Linked DNA regions of Homo sapiens: all the other regions are linked to region 1. The links are contacts of gene promoters, found by promoter capture Hi-C in blood cells and fetal thymus (Javierre and others, 2016). All regions are on one chromosome and are shown on one strand. The core of a region is centred on a gene start or on the middle of the fragment in contact, and the rest is flanking DNA. Distances in the headings are between cores, read along the strand shown. Region 1 holds the start of SLC47A1 (solute carrier family 47 member 1). Region 2 overlaps ULK2 (unc-51 like autophagy activating kinase 2). Region 3 overlaps ULK2 (unc-51 like autophagy activating kinase 2).

What was found. Contacts are between HindIII fragments. The CHiCAGO score rates a contact against its expected background, and 5 or more counts as called.
Region 2: a fragment that was not itself captured here is called in contact with the fragment with the promoter of SLC47A1 in region 1 in 1 of 17 cell types (naive CD4 T cells); the score reaches 6.1 in naive CD4 T cells.
Region 3: a contact is called between a fragment that was not itself captured here and the fragment with the promoter of SLC47A1 in region 1, in 7 of 17 cell types (non-activated CD4 T cells, naive CD4 T cells, total CD4 T cells and 4 more). The highest score is 9.7, in non-activated CD4 T cells.

Annotation. Positions count from the first base shown.
Region 1 is chr17:19,531,757-19,536,464 of GRCh38, reverse strand. It overlaps SLC47A1 (solute carrier family 47 member 1), which reads right to left and starts at 2,611. Exons shown (of 17, transcript NM_018242.3): 1 at 2,391-2,611. The coding sequence starts at 2,525. The HindIII fragment of the contact is 8,699 bases long and covers 1,518-4,708 here.
Region 2 is chr17:19,822,036-19,826,743 of GRCh38, reverse strand. ULK2 (unc-51 like autophagy activating kinase 2) reads left to right here. Exons shown (of 27, transcript NM_014683.4): 11 at 558-605; 12 at 1,562-1,650. Among named protein-coding and RNA genes, the nearest start is that of TRG-CCC3-1, 36 kb to the left of the region's middle. The HindIII fragment of the contact is 2,561 bases long and covers 653-3,213 here.
Region 3 is chr17:19,804,166-19,808,873 of GRCh38, reverse strand. ULK2 (unc-51 like autophagy activating kinase 2) reads left to right here. Exons shown (of 27, transcript NM_014683.4): 15 at 4,044-4,181. Among named protein-coding and RNA genes, the nearest start is that of TRG-CCC3-1, 54 kb to the left of the region's middle. The HindIII fragment of the contact is 3,832 bases long and covers 527-4,358 here.

The sequences.
Region 1 (4,708 bases), core at 1,362-3,861:
TTCTACAGTAAATATGCATGACATTTGTAATAAACACAATGGTATACATATATGTACATACAAAGAGAAAAGGTGAGGTCCCCAGCATGTCAGTCTAGTGCTCATCCCTGGAGACCTGGAGAGGTCCCCCACATCAAGGGGATCAGGCTACTGGGAGGGCTGGATTTCAGAAACCTGCCCTGTTATTATTATTATTATTATTATTATTATTGCTATACTATTAAAGCAATAACAGGCTGGGCAAGGTGGCTTATGCTTATAATCCCAGCTCTTGGGAGGCCGAGGCAGGAGGATTGCTTTAGCCCAGGAATTCAAGCAATGGGCAACACAGGGAGACCCTATCTCTAACCCAAAATACAAAAATTAGCCAGGCATGGTGGTGTGTGCCTGTAATCTCCGCTACTCCAGAAGTTGAGGCTGCAGTGAGCTGTGATCACACCACTGCACTCCAGCCTGGCCGACAGATCAAGACCCTGTCTCAAAAAATAATAATAATAATAAAACAATAATAGCCTTAGAAAGCCCCTTCTCACAGCAGCTCTGTGAGGGAGTGTTGAACCAAGACATGATTATTATCTCCATTTTACAAATGAATATGCAGAGACCAGAAGAGGTTAGGAGGCTGTTTCAATCTGCACAGCTGCTTCCTGACTTACTTTCGGAGGTCAAAGCAGGGCACGCAGCCCCAGGTCTTGAGATTCCAAATCATGAGGTGTTTTTTTGCCCAGGCTGGAGTGCAATGGCGCGATCTGGGCTCACTGCAACCTCCGCCTCCCGGGTTCAAGCGGTTCTCCTGCCTCAGCCTCCCAAGTAGCTGGAATTACAGGCGCCTGCCACCATGCCCAGCTAATTTTTATTTTTTATTTTTTGTATTTTTAGTATAGACGGGGTTTCACCAGGTTGGCCAGGATGGTCTCAATCTCTTGACCTCGTGATCCGCCTGCCTTGGCCTCCCAAAGTGCTGGGATTACAGACGTGAGCCACCACGCCCAGCCATGAGGTGTTTTTGTTTTGTTTTGTTTTGTTTTTTGAGACCAAGTCTTACTCTGTTGTTCAGGCTGGAGTGCAGTGGCACCATCCTGGCTCACTGTAACCTCCACTTCCCAGGTTCAAGCGATTCTCGTGCCTCAGCCTCTGGAGTAGCTGGCACTACAGGCGCCCGCCACCACGTCTGGCTAATTTTTGTATTTTTAGTAGAGACGGAGTTTCACCATATTGGCCAGGCTGGTCTCGAACTCCTGACCTCAAGTGATCCATCTGCCTCAGCCTCCCAAAGTGCTGGGATTACAGGCGTGAACCACCGCGCCCAGCCCCAAATCATGAGTTCTTTCTGGTCTGTGAGAAAGCATGGCTGATGGATCTTATTCCATGGCTTTGACCTCGGCATTACCCTTGCTGTCCTGCACACCACAGCGGGTGCCACAATATCCCACAAACTACCGAGCCCCCACTCCAGAGGCACAGCGGCCCCCCTCAGCCCGCGCAGGTGCAGAATGTGGGCCTCAAAGTCAAAAGCTTATTCACGCCTTAAGTGCATACCAGTTGCTTCTTGTGCCGCGTCCTACCCTCTCGGTTTGAAAACCACCCAAGCTGGCAGGAGAACGTGGATAGGATTGTGTTTTTGTGGTTTTTAAAACCACATTATTTTTAGGAGACAAGGCAGAAACAGCCCTAACCTAATGATTAAAAAGAAAAGAATCCCACAGATAAGAACACCTCGACCCCACAAAGAACCACATTAAAACCCCTTTTTTCTTTCACATACATAATTACTGGCGGGGAGGGGGTGGTACAGGATGCCTCTGGTTTCCTCGGTAGAGGTTGACTGAATTCTGAAGAAATCATTTCGCAGCTCTGAGTCCACGACAGACCACGCACCCCCTCCTCCGTGCCTCGGGATTATTTAGATCGCAGAGCTCCCGAACTTTTGACCGCTACTTTTCAAAGAAACAAGTTCCCTTGTGTTTTGAAGTTCAGGCAACTTGCGTTTTATTGGCCGGAATCAGCTCCCAGAGAAGGCACCCCCGGATGCAAATGCAGCCTGGACCTGGTAGAGCCCCGTTAGGGGCAAAGGTCCCAGCTCTCCGGTGTCTCCTGGCGCAGGAGGCTGGAGCCGCCGGCCTCTCCGAGCCAACATGCGCCCGGGCGCGTACCAGCCGTTCCCGCAGTGCCCCGCGGGGCCCCCAGTCGGGTGGTGCGGAGCGGAAAGCGGCCGGGACGCAGGCAGAGGAGCTGGGGTGCCCGCCCGGCTCCTGGCACGATGCTCCCCGGAGCCCGCCGGCGGACAGCTCGCTCGGTCCCCAAAGCCCGCCAAAGTCACCCGCGGAGGCAGAAATCACCAGGTCCCCAGCCCGCCGGTACCGGCCTGCCACTGAGGCCACCTTACTCACCGCGGGGCCAGCCAGGACCAAGAGCGCCCGCAGCTCTTCTCGGAAGGCGGACAGCCGCAAGCAGCGCGACCCACGGACCTCAAGGGTGGCCTCCGGGCCTCCGCGCACTGGCGCGGGCTCCTCAGGAGCTTCCATGTGACTCGCGCGCTGCGGCCGGGTAGCGCGGAGGCCGGCAGTGGGTACCGCGGAGGCCGGCAGTGAGTACCGCGCAGGCCGGCAGTGGGTACCGCGCAGTGCAGCCTGCTCTGCAGTCCCCGCCCCGGCCGCCCGCCCAGAGCCCGCCCCGCGCCTGGCGCCCGGGGGCCCGACTGAGCGCGCAGCCAGGCAGCCTGCGACCTTGGGCGCGCCCCTTGCACCTCTCTCTGCACCACTGCGGACGCCTGCGGGTCTTGCAAAGACCAAGGAACTCCTGCACTTGGAAGGCAAAGTTTGAAAAAGCTCTGTAAACTAACGGAACGCGCTCCGGGGGCTGGGTCCTCCACGTCTCGGACGCCAGGACTCACCCCGGCTCTCCACCTCCGCTGGGGGTTTCAGGTTCTGAATGACCTGGCGTGGAAGGACCCAGAGGCCTCGAGCCGTGACTCGGTTAGCACCCCGCGGGGTGTGTGGGGTTGGGCGCATTTGCTGTGCAGATTGAGTTGGGTACACCCTTTGATGCTGGTTAGGGTGTTGCATACTCCTCTCCTCTCATCAGTTGTTCCATTAGAGAACTTAGAATCTACCAGGATAGAGCAACATGCTCCCATTTGCCAAGTAGCACAGTTTGTGCCAGCTGGTCGTGTTGGAAGTTTATCCATCAAGCCTGCTGTGGGAGTACGAGAGGCTGCGGCCCAGAAGGGCAGGAGCAGCGCGCTTTCCTCCCAGAGCCTCAGCTTCCTCATCTGCAAACGTGAAAGAACACTCGTCGCCAGCTGTGAAGACTGGGGTTGCCTGGGCGGAGGACCGGAGTCAGTGCCACCTGCCCTCAGCCTGGCACCAGCCGTTACCTAATAAGTGTCAGTTACCAGGACAAGATTGATTTCTCTAATAGTCAAAATTCCTTCCGTTGTAATGATCCAATGTAAGTAGAGAAAATGGAAAACAAATTTTTTGGCTCACATAATCAGGAAGTTTGGATTCAGGGATTTGAAAACAAGGTCATTAGGCCAGGCGCGGTGGCTCACGCCTGTAATCCCAGCACTTTGGGAGGCCTAGGCGGGCGGATCACAAGGTCAAGAGATCGAGACCATCCTGGCCAACATGGTGAAACACCGTCTGTACCGAAAATTAGCTGTGCATGGTGGCGCGCGCCATAATCCCAGCTACTAGGGAGGCTGAGGCAGGAGAATTGCTTGAACCCGGGAGGCAGAGGTTGCAGTGAGCCGAGATCTCGCCACTGCACTCCAGCCTGGTGGCAGAGGGAGACTCCACTCAAAAAAAAAAAAAAAACAAAACCAGATCATTCTTGTTGTCCCTCTTCCCATCTCTGTCCCTCTCCTCCCTTCTCCTCGCCCCTTGGGATTCTTTCCGTAGTTTCTCTTCCTCCTCTGCCGGCAGCCTTTCTCTTCCTGTGCAAGTGACAGTGGTGGCCTCTGATACCCTCGTTCCTATCTTTCCCGTCTGTTAAACCAGAAAGTAAGGCCCTCCCCTCCTCTCTTCTGGTTCCAAACTAACAAACAAAAAACTGGGAGAAAATCTGGTTGGCCCTGCTTAGGTTTCTTGCCCACCTCTGGAACAATCGCCCTGGGTGGGAAAATAGGGTCTGATGTTTGGCTGGCCCTGGACCATGCACCCAGCTTTGAACCTACAGGGTTAGGGTTAGGTGCCCTGTGACTGGTCTCGTCCCACAAGGACTGTACATATGGAGTAGCGCAGTTTCCCAAAAGAACTGAGAGTGTCAACAGACAAATACCCGAGGATATTCACTAGATCTCTGATCACTGCTGTTTTTTGATAATTTTCTGGAAGTCCTGACTGATGTAATAAGACAGGAAATGGAAATGTAATGTATAATGTTAGGAAAGAAAAGGCAAAGGGATTACTCACAGTAGAAATTGACAGACCGGGCCAGGCACAGTGGCTCATGCCTATAATCCCAACACTTTGGAAGGCCGAGGTGGGAGGATCACTGGAACCCAGGAGTTTTGAGACCAGCCTGGGCAACACAGTGAGACCCCATCTCTTAAAAAAAATCCACACAACCCAAAGAAATAAAATATGAACAAAAGCTAATAGAATTGATAAAGGGGTTTAATAAAGTTGCTACATAGAAGTTCTTCAACAAGTCATATCAGTCCTTTATATTGGTAATAACATATATGAAAATACTAAAAGAAATC
Region 2 (4,708 bases), core at 684-3,183, 290 kb before region 1:
CCTTAGGTGATCTGCCTGCCTCGGCCTCCCAAAGTGCTGGGCTTACGGGCGTGAGCCACCACACCCGGCCAGTTTTTTCTCTTTTTAATGTGAAACCAGCATCAGGAATACTTGTAGGGGCGAAGGATAGTTTGTTGTATAAATCAGCTGTATCAATTTCCTCTTAGGACAATTAACAGCTGTAGTTCACATGGGTGCTTAACAAGGGCCTGGTGATCACAGTTCTCCTGTGGGGCTGTCCACTGGAGGGTGGCATACGTTAGAGAACATGTCTGTGTAAGTAGCATCAGAGTATGTTGTGCTGGTGATAGATGTTTTGAGAATTCGTAATTATTTAAAATTTGTTATTGATTCATTATTTTATATGATTATAAAAATAATTATTTTATAGAGGATTTATAAAAAATACGCTTTTACATTTAAAGGAAATGGAGCCTATATAAAGAAGTTAAATTCTGATCTCAAAGACATTATATTGAATACGTTGAGAAAAAATAACCTGGTTGATAGTTTAGTCAATGTCTCTTTAAAGGTTGCATTCTCATTTCTTGTTACAGAAGCATTTTTTAGCCATCCTTTTCTTGAGCAAGGTCCAGTAAAAAAATGTGAGTATCCATTTTTTGTATTTTCACTTAAAGAATGAATGCAAGCTTTAGGAAAAATTAATGATTTTTACTACAAAATTCATCTTTTATTGTGACTCCTAAAATTTCATTGAATTTATTTATTTATTTATTTATTTTTTTTTTTTTTTTTTGAGATGGAGTTTCGCTCTTGTTGCCCAGGCTGGAGTGCAGTGGCGTGATCTCGGCTCACAGCAACCTCCACCTCCCGGGTTCAAGCCATTCTCCTGCCTCAGCCTCTGGAGTAGCTGGGATTACAGGCATGCGCCACCATGCCCGGCTAATTTTGTATTTTTAGTAGAGATGGGGTTTCTCCATGTTGGTCAGGCTGGTCTCGAACTCCGGACCTCAGGTGATCCACCCGCCTCAGCCCCACAAAGTGCTGGAATTACAGGTGTGAGCCACCACACCCAGCTACTTTTTTTTTTAAACGGAGTCTTGCTCTGTCACTCAGGCTGGAGTGCAGTGGTACAACCTCTGCTTCCTGGTTTCAAGTGATTCTCCTGCCTCAGCCTCTGGAGTAGCTGGGATTACAGGCGGGCACTACCACACCTGGCTAATTTTTGTATTTTTAGTAGAGACGAGGTTTCACCATGTTGGTCAGGCTGGTCTCAAACTCCTGACCTCAAGTGATCCTCCTGCCTCAGCCTCCCAAAGTGTTGGGATTATAGGAGTGAGCCTCTGCTCCCAGCCTGATTTTCTTAGATACCTACGGTTGTGTTTATTTAATAACTGTTCTATTTTTCCTTCTGAAACGAAGTTGAAATAGTTTTAGTAATTGCTGCATTTTTAGTTTCATCAGCAGATGTGGTAATAAATAGGTAAATGCAGATTTTGGGGGAACACAAAGGTGTAGTAGTTTTGGCAAGTGTTTCTGTTATACAGGTCATGTGACTGCACTACAAAATGATGTAGTTCATTTGTGTTTCTTCCCCTAGCTTGCCCAGTTCCAGTGCCCATGTATTCTGGTTCTGTCTCTGGAAGCTCCTGTGGCAGCTCTCCATCTTGTCGTTTTGCTTCTCCACCAGTAAGTTACAGTTTATTAAAAATAATTTCAGAGTTAGTGCTATTACATCTTTTCTCAAATGGAGCATGCACATACACTGTGGATATTCTTTTTATGTGTAATGTTTACTAATGTAGCTGAGATTTGGGGGAAAGAACATGATAGTTGGGTCAAATGGACCTGCATTCGGGCCTCTGTCCATATGTTACTGTGTAAGCTCCAGAAAGAAATGTCACCTCTCTGGGCCATTTTCCTCTGAACAGTGAGTATAGCACTATCACCTTCTTATACCCTATGGTGTTTTGGTGATGATACTTGCAAACAGAGTACCCATTACAGGTGGATAGGCAATAAATATTTATTTGATCTGAATGCCGTAGACATGAGCTTGGATTTTTTTTGTATGTGGAATTTCTACTGAGGGAGGAGTCACCTCTGAGCCAGATTTCACTGACTTAGATTCTCTTAATCATGATTTCTGGCGCTTTAAGGTGGCTTCTACTCAAACCTCTTCCTTTCCCTGAAGCTCCCAAGGCATTTTCTTCATGGCTGTGTTCCCTCCCATCTCAGTACTTCTTCCTAATCCTGAGGCCTTCTGGTCACTCTAGTCACTTCTTCCTACTCCACTCTTCTCTTAGGCTTTTTTTTTTTTTTTTTTTTTTTTTTTTGAGATGGAGTTTCGCTCTGTCGCCCAGGCTGGAGTTTAGTGGCTCCATCTTGGCTCACTGCAACCTCCGCCTCCTGGGTTTAAGCGATTCTCCCAGCCTCAGCCTCCCAAGTAGCTGGGACTGTAGGCGCACACCACCACACCCAGCTAATTTTTTGTATCTTTTGTAGAGACGGGGTTTCACTATGTTGGCCAGGCTGGTCTGAAACTCCTGAACTCAAGTGATCTGCCCGCCTTGGCCTCCCAAAGTGTGAGCCACGGCACCCTGCCCCAGACATCAATTTCTTGAATGCCGCTGGCAGAAAGATAGGGGAGCCATAAAAGTGAGACAACTCAGAGGTTTAAGTGGATGGGGCTTGCAGCCTCCATGTACCTTACCTGTCATATAGGACACCTTTTTTTTGTATGTCAAGTAAGTGTAATTTACCTACCTCGTAGGGTTCTTCAGGGATAAGTGAGTGTAAGCACTTATTGCATGCAGGGTCTGACACATAGTATATAACGCAAGGGGTGGCAACTGTTAGGTAAAGCAGATGCAGATGTAGCCTGTTGCAAACAGACAAGTCTCAAAACTGGCAGCAAACCTTTCTTACACAGCCCCGCAAATTCATACCAAATAGATAAAGCAGATTATGTTAATAAGACTTATGTTATGTTCTGGTGAACTAAAAAAATTAAGAGCCAGACACGCTGGCACCAATCCTAGCCCTGCTGCTTGCCCACTCAGTGACTTTGGGCCGGTCAGTTAGAGAGGTGGGCCATGGTGTCCTCATCTGGACCATAGGCTTGTTTAACCTTTGCTTGCAGGGTCCTGGTAGTAAGATGTGGGAAGTGCCTAGCCATGGCAAAGTCTCAATAAATTGTGGCTATTATTATGAACCATATATTTGACACAATGTAATATGAAAAGCAAAGCTTGTGCTAGAGGAAAGAACAACAGGGAAGAATCTAATTTTGGGAGAGCAAACATAAAGGAGCCTGTGGGGTGATAGTGTGACTGAGGGATGAGAGAGGCCAGTAGGGAGGACGTTGAACTGGAAATTTTCTTTGACTGGAGAGAGCATTTTGGGGTTTTTGTTGGTTGAAAGAGGAGGACAAAATAGGAGCCAGGCTAGGGCTGCCAAGGAGTAGCTGAATGTAGAACTAACTGGAGGAGTGAAGAGAGGCAGGAGAAAGAGAAAGTCTTTTTTAGATGTTAAAAACTCTGGTGGACAAACCTATTTTTTCTGAGGCAGGAATATTGTTTGATTCCAGGAGTTCAAGACCAGCGTGGGCAACATATCAAGACCACCCATCTCTACTAAAAAAAAAAAAAAAAAAATAGCCAGGCGTGCCTGGGCATGACTGTAGACTCAGCTGTAAGGGAGGCTGAAATGGGAGGATTGCTTGATCCCAGGAGTTCAAGGCCAGACTGGGCAACATAGTAAGAACCTGCCTCTATTAAAAAAAAAAAAAAAAATCCGGCTGGGTGTGGTGACTCACGCCTGTAATCCTAGCACTTTGGGAGGCTGAGGTGGCCAGATCATGAGACCGGGATATCAAGACCGTCCTGGCTAACACGGTGAAACCCCATCTCTACTGAAAATACAAAAAATTAGCTGGGCATGGTGGCACGCGCCTGTAGTCCCACCTACTCGAGAGGCTGAGGCAGGAGAATCGCTTGAACCCGGGAGGCGGAGGTTGCAGTGAGCTAAGATCGCTCAACTGCACTCCAGCCTGAGCGACAGAGCGAGACTCCATCTCAATAAAAAAAAACAAACCAAACAAAAAACAGTAAACGGGCCGGGTGTGGTGGTTCATGCCTATAATCCCAGCACTTTGGAAGTCTGAGGCGGGTGGACCACTTGAGGTCAGGAGTTTGAGACCAGCCTGGCCAACATGCCAAAACCCTGTCTTGGTGTTTTTTCAAATAACAAAAATTGGCTGGGCGTGGCGGCGTGCACCTGTAATCCCAGATACTCAGGAGGCTGAGGCAGTAGAATCACTTGAACCCAGGAGGCAGAGGCTGCAGTGAGCCAAGATCATGCCACTGCACTCCAGCGTAGGTAACAGAGCGAGACTCTATCTCAAAAAAAAAAATAAAATAAAAAATAAAATAAGTCACTGGCATAAACATATCCTTTTTATGTCTTATTCATTAGAGTTCTTTAAAAAGTAAGGTTGGGCCAGGCTCAGTGGCTCACGCCTGTAATCCAGCACCTTGGGAGACCAAGGTGGGTGGATCGCTTGAGATTAGGAGTTTGAGACCTGCCTGGCCAACATGGTGAAAACCTGTCTCTACTAAAAATACAAAAATTAGCCAGGTGTGGTGGCGTGCGCCTGTAATCCCAGCTACTTGGGAGGCTGAGGTGGGAGAATCACTTGAACCCAGCAGGTGGAGATTGCAGTGAGCTGAGATTGTGCCACTGCAGA
Region 3 (4,708 bases), core at 1,193-3,692, 270 kb before region 1:
TCAGGAATTGGCTAAATTTTCCATAGCAGTTATACCATTTTACAGTCCAACCAACAGTGCACAGGGGTTCCAGTTTCTCCACATTCTCACCAGCATTTGTTATTTTCTAAAATAACAGCCATCCTAATTAATGAGTGTGAGGTGATACCTCATTGTGATTTTGATTTGCACTTCTCTAATGATTAGTGATATTGAACATCTTTTCTTATACTTCTTAGCCATTTGTATATCATCTTTGGAGAAATGTCCAGTCAAGATCTTTGCCCATTTTTAAATTGAGTTATTTGGGTTTTTGTTGTTGGGTTGTAAGAGTTCTCTGTATATTTTGGATATTAGCCTCTTGTCAGGTATGATTTGCAAATATTTCTTCCCATTCTCTTGGTTGTCTTTTGACTCTTTGTGTCCTTTGATACATGAACATTTTTTAAGTTTGAGGAGGTCATATTTGTGTATTTTTTGTTTTGTTGCCTGTGCTTTTGGCATCATATTCAAGAAATCATTGCCTACTCTTATGTCATATTAAGCTTTCCCTCTATGTTTTTGTCTAGGAGTTTTATAGTTTTGGGTATAATGTTCAGGCCTTTAATCCCCTTTGAGTTAATTTTTGTGTATGGTGTATGATAAGATTCCAACTTTACTCTTTTGCATGTGGATATCCAATTTTCCCAGCACCATTTGCTGAAGAGACTGTCCCTGTCCCATTGTGTGGTCTTAGCATTCTTGTCTGAGATCATTTCACTGTATATGCAAGAGTATCTTTTATTTTTGAGATGGAGTTTCGCTCTTGTTGCCCAGGCTGGAGTGCAATGGTGCGATTTCGGCTTGCTGCAGCCTCCGCCTCCCAGGTTCAAGCAATTCTCCTGCCTCAGCCTCCAGGGTAGCTGGGATTACAGGTACCCGCCACCACGCCTGGCTAATTTTTTGTATTTTTAGTAGAGACGGGGTTTCGCCATGTTGGTCAGGCTGGTCTTGAACTCCTGACCTCGTGATCCACCTGCTTCAGCCTCCCAAACCTTAAACAATTTGATGTACTCTAAGGCGCCCCTTGAGTAGCACTGGTACCTTGGGGGCCCTCAGTGCACAGTTTGGGAACCACGGGGATAAGCAAATCTTGTACAATCTTGTTTCTTTCCTCTCTTTGAGGATATGGGAATTCAATTATGGGAATTGTATATTGCCAGATTTTCACTTCTTTTGATGTGCTGCCTTTTTTTCTTCTTGAGTCATCTTTGGCTCCTTTTTGGCTTCTCTTCCTATGGTCTAATTCTTGAACTTTCCTTTACCAGTGAATATGCATTTTTCTCTAAAGCAGCACTTCTTAGTAATAGTGCCTTCAATAGCTACATGGCAGTTTTCAGTACATGTAGGGAATATAATATCTATTCCTTGTGCATCCAGACAAAAAATAGGCATAGGCATGGGAGTTAGGATATCAGAATTCTAAGACTGGTTGTTGCCAGACATTGATGGAGGCCAGCTGCATACACAGCCCATGGTGCATTAGAGTGCACCATCTGAGTGGATTTCTACCCTTCTGATTGCTTCCCTTTACATGCAGTAACCCCTTTCTCACTAGAACCTTGCAAGCTGTGTGCCTGTGTGCCACACTAGGCCCTTTTCTGATGCTGCTTGGGTCTCTGGGTGATGAGCAGGTTATCTCCACTTGGCTCCCCATCACTTACACAGCCTCATGAGCATGAGCTCACAACTGTGGCTTAGCATTAGTCTGCTAGATTGAGTTTCACAGGAGCTCTTATGCATAGATCCTTCCTTCTTCTCTCCCTCTGTCCCTTGGCATTACTTCCAGCTGAACCCTTGCTTTCCTGATTACCTGTCACCCTTTCAGGATTTACTCATGGAGTCTTCTAAAACAAAGAGGCAACTGGGGATTTCCTGGTGTAAAGATTGTGTATTTGAAGAAGTTGTCATGCTATCACCTAGTCTTTATTTGTCCATTTGCATTTGTGCTTTCCTCTCAGCACAAGTAGATAGAATAACATGTGATTGTGCTTTTGTGTGGCCAGGCTGCCTTATCTTTCAAGTATTTCATATGGGTCCAAGATGACGGTCCACACAGAGAATGTTGTGAATTGTAGGCCCTAGTGGAGGTGAGGAAGATGTGCTGGAGACTCAGGACATACACAGACTTTCCCTCTCCTTAACTTGGACTCAGGGAGTTGAAGATGGTTAAATATTGGTGTTAATATTAAGTTGTACAGGAAAATGGCTGCAGTTGTCTTAGCTAGCTAGAGATCTGGAATTTGTCCAGGGAAGACTTTCTAGACCCTGAGCAAGTCTGCTTGCAGGTCCTGTCCAGAGACTATCTGAGATAACATTTGCAGAACACCATCCATGGCTGTTCATGTCCTCATGCTGGTAGGGGGAGGAACCAGAGGTGTTAGAGAAGCCAGCTGAGATTACCTGAGAGAGGTGCTTAGAATTATGAGGTTGCTAAGTTTACTTCTTTGGGTACCTTTATTTAGCTTCTTCCCTTTGGAGATTAACCAGTACAGGAAAAATTTTAGAGCTTGATAATGTGTATTTAAAAAAAATTCCCTGATGTACTTTAGCAGGGAATGAATGCTTCAAAAACTCTGTTTACTTACTAAATTGAAACAATAAAAAAATGGCATTTATTCTTTCACATTCTGATAATTGATGACTGTGTTGGTTATTCTGTTGTTAAGGAACTTGGGTTGTCAGACCTATGAGTGCACTGGCTTGCAGACACCAGAGCTGATTAGTGAAGTACTGTTAAGCTGTTTTAGTGGTAGTAGAGGGTTTGTGTTTTTGGGATTTTGTTTGTTTGTTTTTAGGATGTAGATAAACTGAAGAATCAGATGTGTAGATATTAAAAACATTATTGTATTTAAAGATACTAAATGGAAATACCTAAATAAAAATGTATAGAGAGAGCTCATAGAAGCACACTAAATGGCGTATCATTAGGAATTCCACTTGGCTGTAAACCACAGGGTCCTAACTATAGAGTGGTTGAACACTTAAAGGTTTTCTCTCATGCAGAAAAGTCACGATAAACAGTTGTTTCCTTAGTTTCTGTGGCTCAAGGAAGTTACGTGTCTTCAGGTCTTTTGGCCTTTTTTTTTGTGGTTCAAAGGTATCTGCTGAAGCTCCAGCAAGCATGCTCACATTTTGAACAGGAAGAATGAGTAGAAGACTTCTGCTTATATCTCACTGACCAAGAAAGACATATGGTTATGCTTGGCTGCAAGGGAGTCTGGGATATGCTGCAATTAATTGGGCATATTATTGCCACTAATAAAATTTAAGTTATTTTTTAGTAAGACATAAAGGCTGAATGGATATTGGGAAAGCAGCTAACATCTCCACTACAAAAGTGTTTTGTATTTCTTTTTACTTTGAAATAAGTCATCTCTCTTAGGGCCCAGTGTTATCTCTGATATGTTTTTAGGATATGTTGTAAAGTGAATTGAAAGTGGTATAAGGACATTCTATTTCTGAATTTATGAAAAGTGAGGAAAGAGGCTATTAAAGAAACCAAATACTGACACTACAAAATGTGGACGTCAGATGAGTTGCATGCTTTGAGAGTTTGTGCAAGATGTTCTCCTTCTTCATAAAGTCAGAGCTCTTTGAGAATGCTTACAGCATTCATGACTTTTGCAAACATTCCAGTCATCTTTGTTGTTGAACTTCCCGTTCTTTTACCCAGCATATTTTCCTGGATATTTTTTCTCTCACATAGTAATGAATAGCAGAATGTGAGTGGATGAAACAGTTTTGCTGACCTGTGGACTTTTCCTGTTGTTGTAAAGGAACTTTTTTCCAGGTTATTATAATTCTTAGTCCTCAATATGCATATGAATGCCAGGAGTTTTTTAGATAATAAATGTGATTTTTTTTGGCTTTATATATTTTTTAACAAGATCATTTCTTATTAAGGTAGTGGAGTGACCATTTGGCTCTTTCTGGAATTTTCTCTAAATATAACTAATGGGTCAAATGAAAGAAAAACAATCCTACCACTGTTTCTTTCCTTTTTCAATAAATTACGATTGCAGGCAGTGTCAGCCTACTGTGTCACCTCACAGCGAAACAGCACCAATTCCAGTTCCTACTCAAATAAGGAATTATCAGCGCATAGAGCAGAATCTTACATCTACTGCCAGCTCAGGCACAAATGTACATGGTTCTCCAAGGTAAGTTAGTAGCTTTTTTCTTGCTTAATTCTTTTTCATCTCCTTTAAAAAAAATTTATTGATATTGGAAGATATGTTACTTTCTGTGGCATAGTGTCTTACATGTGTGTATAATGGGAACGCACAAAATTGAATAATAAAGTTTTATAATTGATGAATTTAAATGCTATTTAAGCTTAGCTTGATAATATAGTATGATATGTATATATTTGTATATATTTTATATATGTTAAGTATACATGTGTATAGACATATATACTTAAAATGTATAATTACTTTTAAGAATTGAGGAAGAACTTATTAAAAAATGAAATCCCACCAGTTGTAGCAGATTATTTACATATTGTTTACTTTTTCCCCCATCCTGAGACCTTACTAAGATCATATTAAAGGAATAACAAAGGTACAAGTCCACAAAAACAAGTGAAATAAGAATAGATTATTCTTTTTTTTTTTCTTTTTCTTTTGTGCTTTTAGAGACGGGGTCTCACTACATTGACCAGGCTGGTCTTGAACTCCTGGCCTCA